Linked DNA regions of Homo sapiens: region 1 is linked to region 2. The links are contacts of gene promoters, found by promoter capture Hi-C in human tissues and cell types (Jung and others, 2019). All regions are on one chromosome and are shown on one strand. The core of a region is centred on a gene start or on the middle of the fragment in contact, and the rest is flanking DNA. Distances in the headings are between cores, read along the strand shown. Region 1 overlaps PCTP (phosphatidylcholine transfer protein). Region 2 holds the start of HLF (HLF transcription factor, PAR bZIP family member).

Evidence for each region. Contacts are between HindIII fragments. The study calls those that stand out against the background at their distance.
Region 1: a fragment that was not itself captured here is called in contact with the fragment with the promoter of HLF in region 2 in 1 of the 25 tissues and cell types used here (dorsolateral prefrontal cortex).

What each region holds. Positions count from the first base shown.
Region 1 is chr17:55,766,178-55,771,782 of GRCh38, forward strand. It overlaps PCTP (phosphatidylcholine transfer protein), which reads left to right. Exons shown (of 6, transcript NM_021213.4): 2 at 1,158-1,275; 3 at 4,929-5,008. Among named protein-coding and RNA genes, the nearest start is that of PCTP, 18 kb to the left of the region's middle. The HindIII fragment of the contact is 3,503 bases long and covers 1,488-4,990 here.
Region 2 is chr17:55,262,039-55,267,432 of GRCh38, forward strand. HLF (HLF transcription factor, PAR bZIP family member) reads left to right here and starts at 2,922. Exons shown (of 4, transcript NM_002126.5): 1 at 2,922-3,561. The coding sequence starts at 3,447. RefSeq lists a silencer at 2,726-3,045. The HindIII fragment of the contact is 14,198 bases long and covers 1,734-5,394 here.

The DNA of each region.
Region 1 (5,605 bases), core at 1,989-4,488, 500 kb after region 2:
GCTTTTTTATCATTGTGTCACCAAGACCACAGAGGAGGTCAGTGTTTGGTGTGGCATGAACGTCGTCATCAGCTGCTTTTCTTTTTTTTTTTTTTTATTATACTTTAAGTTTTAGGGTACATGTGCACAATGTGCAGGTTAGTTACATATGTATACATGTGCCATGCTGGTGTGCTGCACCCATTAACTCGTCATTTAGCATTAGATATATCTCCTAATGCTATCCCTCCCCCCTCCCCCCACCCCACAACAGTCCCCAGAGTGTAATGTTCCCCTTCCTGTGTCCATGTGTTCTCATTGTTCAATTCCCACCTATGAGTGAGAATATGTGGTGTTTGGTTTTTTGTTCTTGTGATAGTTTACTGAGAATGATGATTTCCAATTTCATCCATGTCCCTACAAAGGACATGAACTCGTCATTTTTTATGGCTGCATAGTATTCCATGGTGTATATGTGTCACATTTTCTTAATCCAGTCTATCATTGTTGGACATTTGGGTTGGTTCCAAGTCTTTGCTATTGTGAATAGAGCCGCAGTAAACATATGTGTGCATGTGTCTTTATAGCAGCATGATTTATAGTCCTTTGGGTATATACCCAGTAATGGGATGGCTGGGTCAAATGGTATTTCTAGTTCTAGATCCCTGAGGAATCGCCACACTGACTTCCACAATGGTTGAACTAGTTTACAATCCCACCAACAGTGTAAAAGTATTCTTATTTCTCCACATCCTCTCCAGCACCTGTTTTTTCCTGACTTTTTAATGATTGCCATTCTAACTGGTGTGAGATGGTATCTCATTGTGGTTTTGATTTGCATTTCTCTGATGGCCAGTGATGGTGAGCATTTTTTCATGTGTTTTTTGGCTGCATAAATGTCTTCTTTTGAGAAGTATCTGTTCTTGTCCTTCACCCACTTTTTGATGGGGTTGTTTGTTTTTTTCTTGTAAATTTGTTGGAGTTCATTGTAGATTCTGGATATTAGCCCTTTGTCAGATGAGTAGGTTGTGAAAATTTTCTCCCATTTTGTAGGTTGCCTGTTCACTCTGATGGTAGTTTCTTTTGCTGTGCAGAAGCTCTTTAGTTTAATTATGTGGAATGCAGCTTTCTCTCAACTTGGGAACCAATAGACATTTCTACCTGTTCTGTTTTTATAGAAGACTGGACTTTATGAGTATAAAGTCTTTGGTGTTCTGGAGGACTGCTCACCAACTCTACTGGCAGACATCTATATGGACTCAGATTACAGAAAACAATGGGACCAGTATGTTAAAGGTGAGTGATGCTTGCTTTTCTTTTTTTTTTAGACGTACTTTCACTTTTGTAGCCCAGGGTGAAGTGCAAAGGTAGGATCTCAGCTCACCGCAATCTCCGCCTCCTGGGTTCAAGCGATTCTCCTGCCTCAGCCTCCTGAGTAGCTGGGACTACAGGCGCCCGCCACCACACCTGGCTAATTTTTGTATCTTTAGTAGAGACAGGGTTTCTCCATGTTAGTCAGGCTGGTCTTGAACTTCTGACCTCAGGTGATCCGCTTGCCTTGGCCTCCCAAAGTGCTAGGATTACAGGCATGAGCCGCTGCACCCAGTGCTTTTTTTTTTTTTTTTTTTTGATCATTAAAAAGTAGATCTATTCTGACCAGATGCAGTGACTCACGCCTGTAATCCCAGCACGTGGGGAGGCTGAGGCGGACAGATCACTTGAGGCCAGGAGTTTGAGACCAGCCTGGCCAACATGGTGAAATCCCGTCTCTACTAAAAATACAAAACTTAGCTGGGCATGGTGGCGCATGCCTATAGTCCCAACTACTTAGGAGGCTGAGGCACTAAGAATTGCTTGAACCCAAGAAGCAGAGGTTGCAGTGAGCCAAGACTGTACTTCAGCAGGGACAACAGAGGGAGACCCTGTCTCAAAAAAAAAAAAAAGTCTAATCTATTTTTATTTATTCTTGCCAGTAGAAAAAAATAAAATTAACTTCTACTACATAGTGCTTCCTATTAAATTTTGGCACAAAAGCATTTTAAATGTTGGACTGAAATGCACTTTTGCTATTGCTAGGACTTGCTCCTTACCTAGTTTTAGATCCTCTCCACAGTTTGCTCTTGGGGCTCCTTTGCTGCCACTTTTAAGTTGTGTGATCCTCCCATGTATCTAGGTTGTCATGAAAGGGGAGGAGGTGCGGTCCAAGTTTTGGTTTGAGAGTTGAATCAAAATTTTCCAAACAGAGAAGAATACATGTATGTGAGGAGGTAAGAGAGGGACAGGATGACTGGTTAAGAGCATTCTAGGCTCAGGGATCAGCATTAGTAAGGTCAGGAAAGCGTGAAGCAATATGTTCAATAGCCGCCAGCAGTTTGGTGTTGTTGGGTTGGTTGGAGTAAGAGAACCTATCCTAGGTCTTCGACTACTGTTAGTACTAGTTCTACTACTACTATTGTTAGTACTGCTAGTACTAGTAGAACTAGCTAATAGAACTAGTACTAGTAGTAGTCGAAGAGCTAGGGTAGGTTCTTCTACTACTAGGCGAACTAGGGCAGCTGTTGGGTCCAGATCCTCCAGGGCCTAGCATGGCGACCAGGCTATCGGTCTTAGATTTTTCCCTGTAAGTTATGTGTTATGAAAGACATCACACAGGGACTTCTCCTGCCACTTAGAGCTGGAGTAGCCTCTGCCAACCCAGTCATAGTGGAATGGAACTATGAAACTAGCCAAAGGCACATAAAGCCTTTAGTCAAGACTCTTGGTTGCAAGTAACAGAAAGCCAACTAAAGACAGTGTAAGAAGAGAAAAAGGAGTTTATTAGTTCATGGCATTGAAAAAAGTCCAGGGGTTTCTAACTTTGAGGACAGCTGCAACAGGGAACTTAAATAATTTCATCAGGATTGTTTCTTTCTCCATCTGTAGACTCTGTTTTCTTCTGTGTTGACCTAATTCCTAGGCAGATTCTTATGTCATGGCCAAGATGTCTGCCAGAAGATCCAGATTTATATTCTAACCATATGAATAACCCCAGAGGAAGGAGAATTCTACTTTTCTAGGGATGACAGCCAGATGCCAGGATTGGCTCTTGTCAGCTCAGCTTGGAGTTTGTGCTTATTTTCTGTGGACATTCATCATGGTTTTGGGCAACTTAGTGTTCTCAAATACTCTTCCTATTTAGGGGGCAGTGGGATGCTTACCTATCCAAGGGAACAGCCAGACACTGTCTGTCCAGGCCTCCCTTGCAGCCAAGATACAGTCATGTGACATAGACTCTGCCAATAAGACCCACATGTGGCTTCAATTTGGAAAAGAGCCATGTGAGGAAGCAGGCAGCATGGAAGATCCATTTTTCAGTGACCAGTGATGGCATCTGACTTTAGGGAAAACAACTGCTGAGTCTCTGATGTTTGCTCCCCAACATCAACAGCTTTCACTCTGGGTTCTCATCCAGTGGAAGCAGCAGTTAGGCTTTGCTGGAACAATCTTGAGGTTGGAAATCTCACTCTGGTCCATCCGAGAGCTTTACTAAATCACTTTTTGCTCTCAACTTGCTAGAGTGACTAACTACGACTCTGGACAGATCTGCCATCCCTGAATTCGTCACCATGGCCGTGTCTTGCTCATTTTCCCAGCCCTGAAATTACTGCAGAGTCAGTCTTGCGAAACCATGCAGCTGAGAAGTAGGGGAAGGGTGATGCCCTGAAGGAAAATTGAGATGCTCAAGGGGCGATCAATGCTGAGCATGTAAAAGCAACAGATGTCCACCTCTCCCTTTCTTTTAAGGACTCTCATCAGCCTCCTGTGACCTTAATGGGCTGGCACACTCCTTAATCTACAGTGTGCTTCTAATAGATTTTCTTTCAAAACCTAAATTATCCCTCCTTACCATCTCCTCCAGGGACTTTGGGCTCCTTTAACTGGAGGTAGAAAGAAGTTTACTGCACAGCACAGTCTGGGGACAGAGGGTGTGCATGCCATTAAATTTCTTTGCTATCTCCCTCCAAGAGTTGGCTGCTGTTTGCACATAATAGTAAGACGGAAGGATTATTAGGGAAATTTGGTCACCCTAGCTGTGGCATAGTGCAAAGAAACATGGGAGAGAAGAAAGAAACTTGGGGTAAGCCATAGTTCTGCTGATCTCTAACTATTCAAGAAGGACGTTGCTCATTCTGGAACCTTCATATCCGACCTATGAATGTGCTAGACTGGGTGACTCCGTTCCAGGTTAGCTGTAATGGATCAAGGAATCCTAAAGGGGAATTAAAGGGCTCAGAAGCAAAACTATTGGTACTCTAGTGACATCTGGTGGTTATCCTGAATTTAAAACCTCTGACTATTTTTTTGATGTCTGATTTTGTTTCATTGCATTCTATCAAGAATATTGATTATGCTATAGAATGGCCAAGATTTGTTGGCTTCTTTTATTTGTGCTGTGTTTTTCTATCCACTAGACTCTGTCCCTGGGCAATAAGCTTTCAGTGGAAATTAATCGGTTTGACTTTTTTCTAGAATTTTATACCTTATGAGTTAGTGGTTTATCATAACCTAAGAGGTCATCTTTTTTTTTTTTTTTCTTGAGACATGGTGTCATTCTGTCACCCAGGCTGGAGTGCAGTGGTGCAATCATGGCTTGGCTCACTGCAGCCTTGACCTGCTAGGCTTGGATGATCCTCCTACCTCAGCCTCCAGAGTAGCTGGGACTACAGACATGCACCACCATACCTGGCTGATTTTTTTGCTTTTTTTTTTTTTTATATATAGAGATGGGGTTTCACCATATTTCCCAGGCTGGTCTTGAACTCCTGGACTTGAGCAATTGACTCACCTTGGCCTCAAAAAGTGCTGGGATTACAGGCATGAGCCACCATGCTTGGCCTAAGAGGTCATACCCTTATTAGTTGTAGCTAAAAAGGCTTCCAGATGCATTAACTTCTTTTGCTTTCCTTTAGAACTCTATGAACAAGAATGCAACGGAGAGACTGTGGTCTACTGGGAAGTGAAGTACCCTTTTCCCATGTCCAACAGAGACGTATCCTTTCCACAAGGTACTCATTCCCTGGCCCTCTAAGTGTTTCTGTGTTCCTCAGCTGCAGTCTATTGCAGAGAGGTAGAGCTGGTTTCTCAGCAGGCACAGATAACATTGTCTCTGATTCTTGCAGCAGCATTTGCTAAAGATATTGCTTCTTGTATGGTGTTTGGAGAGCTCAGAGTGTGATTTCTGGGCCCAACCACATGAAGTGTCTGTAATTTTGGTCACTGGAGAGCAGCTCTTACTTTCCTAAGAAGTTTCCTAGGCCTTGAAATTGTCAGGCCACAGAATTGGGGATCTGGAAGGAACTTCTTATAAAAAGTGCTTGTTACAGCTCCCTCAGTCTACAGAAGGAAAAAGGGCTCCCAAAGAGGTGATAGGACAGAGGCACATAGGTGGTTAGTGGCAGAGCAGGTGCTGGAACTCAGGCCTCTGCATTTCCAGCTCTCTCCGCCTCCCCCATCTCAGTAGACCCCACAGAAATCCCTCCTTGATTGTTGGCTCTGGACACTGACTGTAAGCTTCTTCCCCTCAATGTCCTTGTTTATGAAATGAAGCAGTTGAATGAAATGTAGGGAGGCTTGGCTGGCACTGTAA
Region 2 (5,394 bases), core at 1,672-4,171:
TATGATTTCACTTGTATGAAATTATAAAACAAGCAAAATGAATCTATGGTGTAAGGAGGCCATGTAAAGAGAAAGAGAAGGCCAGCCAGCCCAGTATCCCAGCTGAGCCTAACCTAGATTGCAGAATAATGAGAAATAATAAAATGATTGTTGTTTTAAGCCACTAGGTTTTGGAGTGATCTGTTACACAGCAATCAATAATCAGCATCATTGCTTTCCTCATGGAATTGTCAGAAGTATGTGATATGACACATATGGAAGGGCTCTGTAAGTGGACAAGTGCTAAGCACTTGTGAGCGGCAGTTATCTCTGGGCATATGTGCAGATTGGGGTTAGTGCTCATTAGGGATATGTCCATTTGAGAATTAACCTGTGGAATTCAGAGGGTCTTACTACCCAACCAATATAACCTTTGGTTTCTTCTATCCCTCTCCTTCCTCTTGAGCAGCCATCCACAACTGCTTCTGGGGAAGAGAGAGAGAGAAAGAGAAAGAAAGATGTTCATGGTTTGTTAAAAAAATAAAAGAAAATAACATTTACAAATGGCCAGAGTAGAAAAGATGTACCAATTTCATTTATCTTGTTAAGGAATGGGGCTAGATTGAAGATTAGCCAATGCTTATAATTTTTGAGGCTCTAAGAAATACCTTTGAAGTTAGAGAAGGATGGAGAGAAGTGAGAGGGAGTCACCATGGTCTAAGGGGCTGGTCCTCAATCTGGTCCGTGACATGTTGATCAGGCTCAGGGAAATTAAATTAAATGAACCAAATTCCCAAGAAACTGCTTGATCAACCAGAACGCCAGTTTATCCACTTGCAATGAGAAATGCAATTTCCAAGCCACAGTATTTGGTTCTGTCAGGTGGTAAGGAGAAGATTACCCTGGGAAACCAGATTACTTGACCTGGTAAGAGTTTCATGTCTGGAAACATGGGGAAGTGAGGACATGCGGAGAATCATGAGCAGGTGGAGCACTTTGGGCGTGCTGAGTAATGTCAGTGGACTGTTACACAAAGCTTAGGTAACGCATCTTTCATGCACCTGGAATCTGCAATCTAACAGATTTCTAACCAGGCTGAGAGGATGCTCTCAGTCCTGCCAGTTTATGGACTTACAGGGATGTAAGGAACTCAAGACAGGGAAATAGCCTCTGTCTCCAAAAGGATAGCGGAGATGAGGTCCCTTTTTTATTTTTTAAAAAAACAATATAATATAATTGATGGATTCAGACCGTTCACGAGAGACTATTACCTCCACGCCCAGCTCAGGCACCTTCTCTAGAATCCCTTTCCTAATAATGTAAGTGCCCCTGTCACCTCCATCTATCCATTTTTGTTCTTTTAAGCCTATTTTATATTATTTGCTTATATGCCAAACCCTAAACGATGAGTTCTTGAAGGTTAAAATTATGTTTTATTCATCTTTTTTCACTAGCCCCCGCATAGTCGCTGGCATACATACCGTGGTGCTCAATAAATGCATGTGGCATTAACTAAAAGTTTGCTGTTTCTGGAATTCGTCTGAAACCTGAAACACTGCAACAACATCTCACTTAGAATGTTGCCTTACCCTTTTGCCATAATTTTAGAGTGAGGAAGTAGAGGTCACTAGATTACGTGTCCTTTTATGAAGAACCTACAGCTCAGGGCAGAAAGGCACTTGCCGGAATCACCCTGCCAGGGAACTCTGAACCCCGCTGCGCCGCCGCTCCTGATCTCTGGGGTTTCAGGCGCCTCCTCTCTTACAACCCTCTCCTGGGGAAGTAAACCCCATCAAGACACCACCACATCCTTCCCCAGCGACTCAGCCTGGGGTCACAAAGGCCTTTACGTCCCACTGAAAAACGGTTTTCTTTCATTTGTGCCCATTCGTTCTTGCAGCCCCTTCCCCAGATCGAAGACTAGGGTCTTAGTAAGGAGAGGTAAGGAGGGAGGGGAAGAACCTGCCTGGCCCCCCGCGGAGCTCTGCAGGGGGCGTCGCGGCTGCACGCCAGCGCCCGCACCACCCCAGGCGGGAAGGGAGTTATCACACAGGGGGTCGCACGCAGATCTCGGGGACCGTGGGTGCCACGAGGTCAAACTGGCAGAGGGAGACGCTGCAGCTGCTGTAACAGCAAGGAAAGCCGAAGCCCCCTTAGGGGATACTTTACAAAATTATTTTAATCACCGTGCAAACCTAATAACTTGACCCAAGCGCAATCACCTGTATTCACCCAGAGTAAATATTCCTAAAATCCCGTTCAGTGTGTCTGTGTCTCTCCCGCCTCTTTCCGTTTCAGGCAAATGTCTACCCCCCCTCTCCCCCCACCGTTAACACCTCTCTGCAGCGTGGGAAACAGTGCCCAGCAGCTCAGTCCTCCGCTTCCCGCTCTGCTTTTTGCATCCCATTCGGACTTATAGGAAGTAGTTATTTTTTGGTGGTGGTGGAAACTGGGCAAGAAAGAAGACGCTAAGCTTGGCCGGGGCCAGGAGAAATATTGAGAAGGGTCGTTACCTTCCATCCGATCTAAACCAATCATCTCAAACTTGGCTACTCTTTGGAACCACCTGGGGAGCTTTAAAAATTATGGACGCCCTGATAGCACCGCAGAGGTTCTGATCTAATTGATCTGGGATGCGGCCTGGGTATCGCGATTTTTTTAAAACTCCTCAGGTTATTCCCAGCTTGAAAACTATGGATATAAATTTCTCATTCCTCTTCCCACCCAGACCAAAAAAAAAAAAAAAAATCTAAGCCTAAGTTGATGGCCCAGGGAATCTGGCACCTGCTCCCCTGCAACCAGCCAGTGCTGCAAGGTCCCCGAAAATCGGCGCGAGCGGCGACGCTAAACACGCGGCGGCGGGGCGAGCGGGCCAGGCGGGCGGTGCCGCGCGTGGCCCCGCCCCCGCACGCCTATGGGCGCGAGGTGCGGGCCCTGACGTCACTCTTGTCAGGGCCGCGGCACATGGGCGGCCGGATGCGCTGAGCCCGGCGCTGCGGGGCCGCGGAGCGCTGGGGAGCAGCGGCCGCCGGCGCGGGGAGGGGGGTGGGGTGGGACGGCGCACCGCCTCCGGTGCTGGCACTAGGGGCTGGGGTCGGCGCGGTGTCTTCTGCCCTTCTGCAGCCGTCGACATTTTTTTTTCTTTCTTTTTTTCAATTTTGAACATTTTGCAAAACGAGGGGTTCGAGGCAGGTGAGAGCATCCTGCACGTCGCCGGGGAGCCCGCGGGCACTTGGCGCGCTCTCCTGGGACCGTCTGCACTGGAAACCCGAAAGTTTTTTTTTAATATATATTTTTATGCAGATGTATTTATAAAGATATAAGTAATTTTTTTCTTCCCTTTTCTCCACCGCCTTGAGAGCGAGTACTTTTGGCAAAGGACGGAGGAAAAGCTCAGCAACATTTTAGGGGGCGGTTGTTTCTTTCTTATTTCTTTTTTTAAGGGGAAAAAATTTGAGTGCATCGCGATGGAGAAAATGTCCCGACCGCTCCCCCTGAATCCCACCTTTATCCCGCCTCCCTACGGCGTGCTCAGGTCCCTGCTGGAGAACCCGCTGAAGCTCCCCCTTCACCACGAAGACGGTGAGCGCTGCCGCGGCCCCGCTCCGGGAAGGGACGACGCTCCGGGGGTCCCCCTCCGCGGCCGGGCACGCCCGCTGGAGCATCCCCCAACCCCGCTCCCGCCCTGTCCCGCGGCGCCCCGGCCCCGCGCTGATGAAATTGAGGAGCTCACCCAGCACCCTTCCTCCCCTTCCTCCTCCTCCATGAAAGGGGAGGGACCCCTCCTGAGCTACATTTAAAAGAGCTTCGGGCACCCGGCCTCCCTGGGTCCCGCTCCTGCGGCGCGGGTGGGAGGTGTAACTTGACAGGTCAGGATCGTTCCCTAGAACGAGGCACACCCGCACGCAGAGCGAGCCCGCCTGCGGAGGGCAGAGCCTCCCGGGCTGGGGAGGAGAAACCCTGGGGCCTGGTTCTGTGCGGGGCAGGGGGCGGGGGTCGGCTTGAGGGAGGGGGTTTCACTGCGTAGCCTGGGTTTTGGGGTTGTGTTACAGCTTCTGTTACTGGTTAGTATTTGGAACTCACGAGGTGTGAGAGAAGACTCGTTTTCTTCTGGTGAAGGGTAGCTGAGAAAGCGGGGTGGGGGCTGGGGCCGGTGGGGGGAGTGGTCTCTCGGCGGGAAGCCGTGCACGCCTCCAGCGTTGACACTTTCCCGGTGCACTTTTTCTGGTGGGAGGGGAGAGCGGAGCAGGCTCACGTGTAACCGCGCAGGAGCCTCCTCTGGCTTGAGCCCTTTCTTGGTAAGTCCCAAACCTTCCCAAGACAACCTTGGCCTTAGCAGTAGAGGAGGGGTACGTGTGATGAGGCCCCAAACCCGGCTAAGTGATGCCACGGATTTGGGTTGATGCGATTTCATGCCTTCGGTATCACAGTAGCAAATGCGAACCGTGCGGCTCACAGTGTAAAGTTCTGAAAGGTTATTTGGCTACAAATAGCTTGGGAGTACTTGCACCTTCTTTTCTAGGAGAGGACAACCTGTTGCATTGCAAGAGTTTGCAATCTGCAGATGATAGCCAGGGACCCCTCCCTAACTATCCTTTAAGGAAGAGCATTTGGGAGGAAGGGGCTGCCTGCAGGCTTTTGCATCTGTGGGTGTTTTAAGTCAGATTTTCAGATGAGATGGTAGAGGGTTAGAATGGATGGCAGTGGAGGCTGTGTTTCTCTGAAGATGAAACTCAGAAGCAAATTCCTTAATCCCAGATTCCACCCACGACTGAATACTAGAATTGGCAAGATCCGGAATGCTTGTTAAAGACCTAATGGGCGAGCAGTACTTCCAGGTAGCAAATAGCTGCATACTTCCAACATAAATGTATAGAATAACTCACCTTTTCCAATAGCTCTGCTTTTGAAAGGTTTTGTAAATGCATACTCTTTGTAAATTGGATCATACTCAAATGTTTGGAGAAGAGAAGGAAGAAAACACTTTGTATTTTTTTAAACTCCTTTTGTAAAAATCAGTGTGCCCCAGTGGCTTTAGAAGCAAACACATGTGAGCTCAGAAAGTTCTCATTCTCTGCCAACATGAGGCATTGGTCAAGTTCCCTCAAGTCTCAGAGCCTCCGAGTCTTTGTTGTAAATGGAGGTAATTGTTATTTTGCAAGTTTATTGTGAGATTTTTGAGATAATATATGGAAAGAACCAGGTATCCAGTAGGTACTCTAAACATGATGTTAAAGAAGGGTGGAAGGTCCCTGCTTTACCAAAATTAAGACCACTAACTCACTGGCTTTGTAAGTCTGAATGACCTCCTATTGCTGCTGTGATGAATTCCTGGAAGATAATTCAAGCCTGGTTATTGGCTGTTGTTTTCTTAAAAATGACAGCAGTTGTATATAATCACAGATGTTATATTCC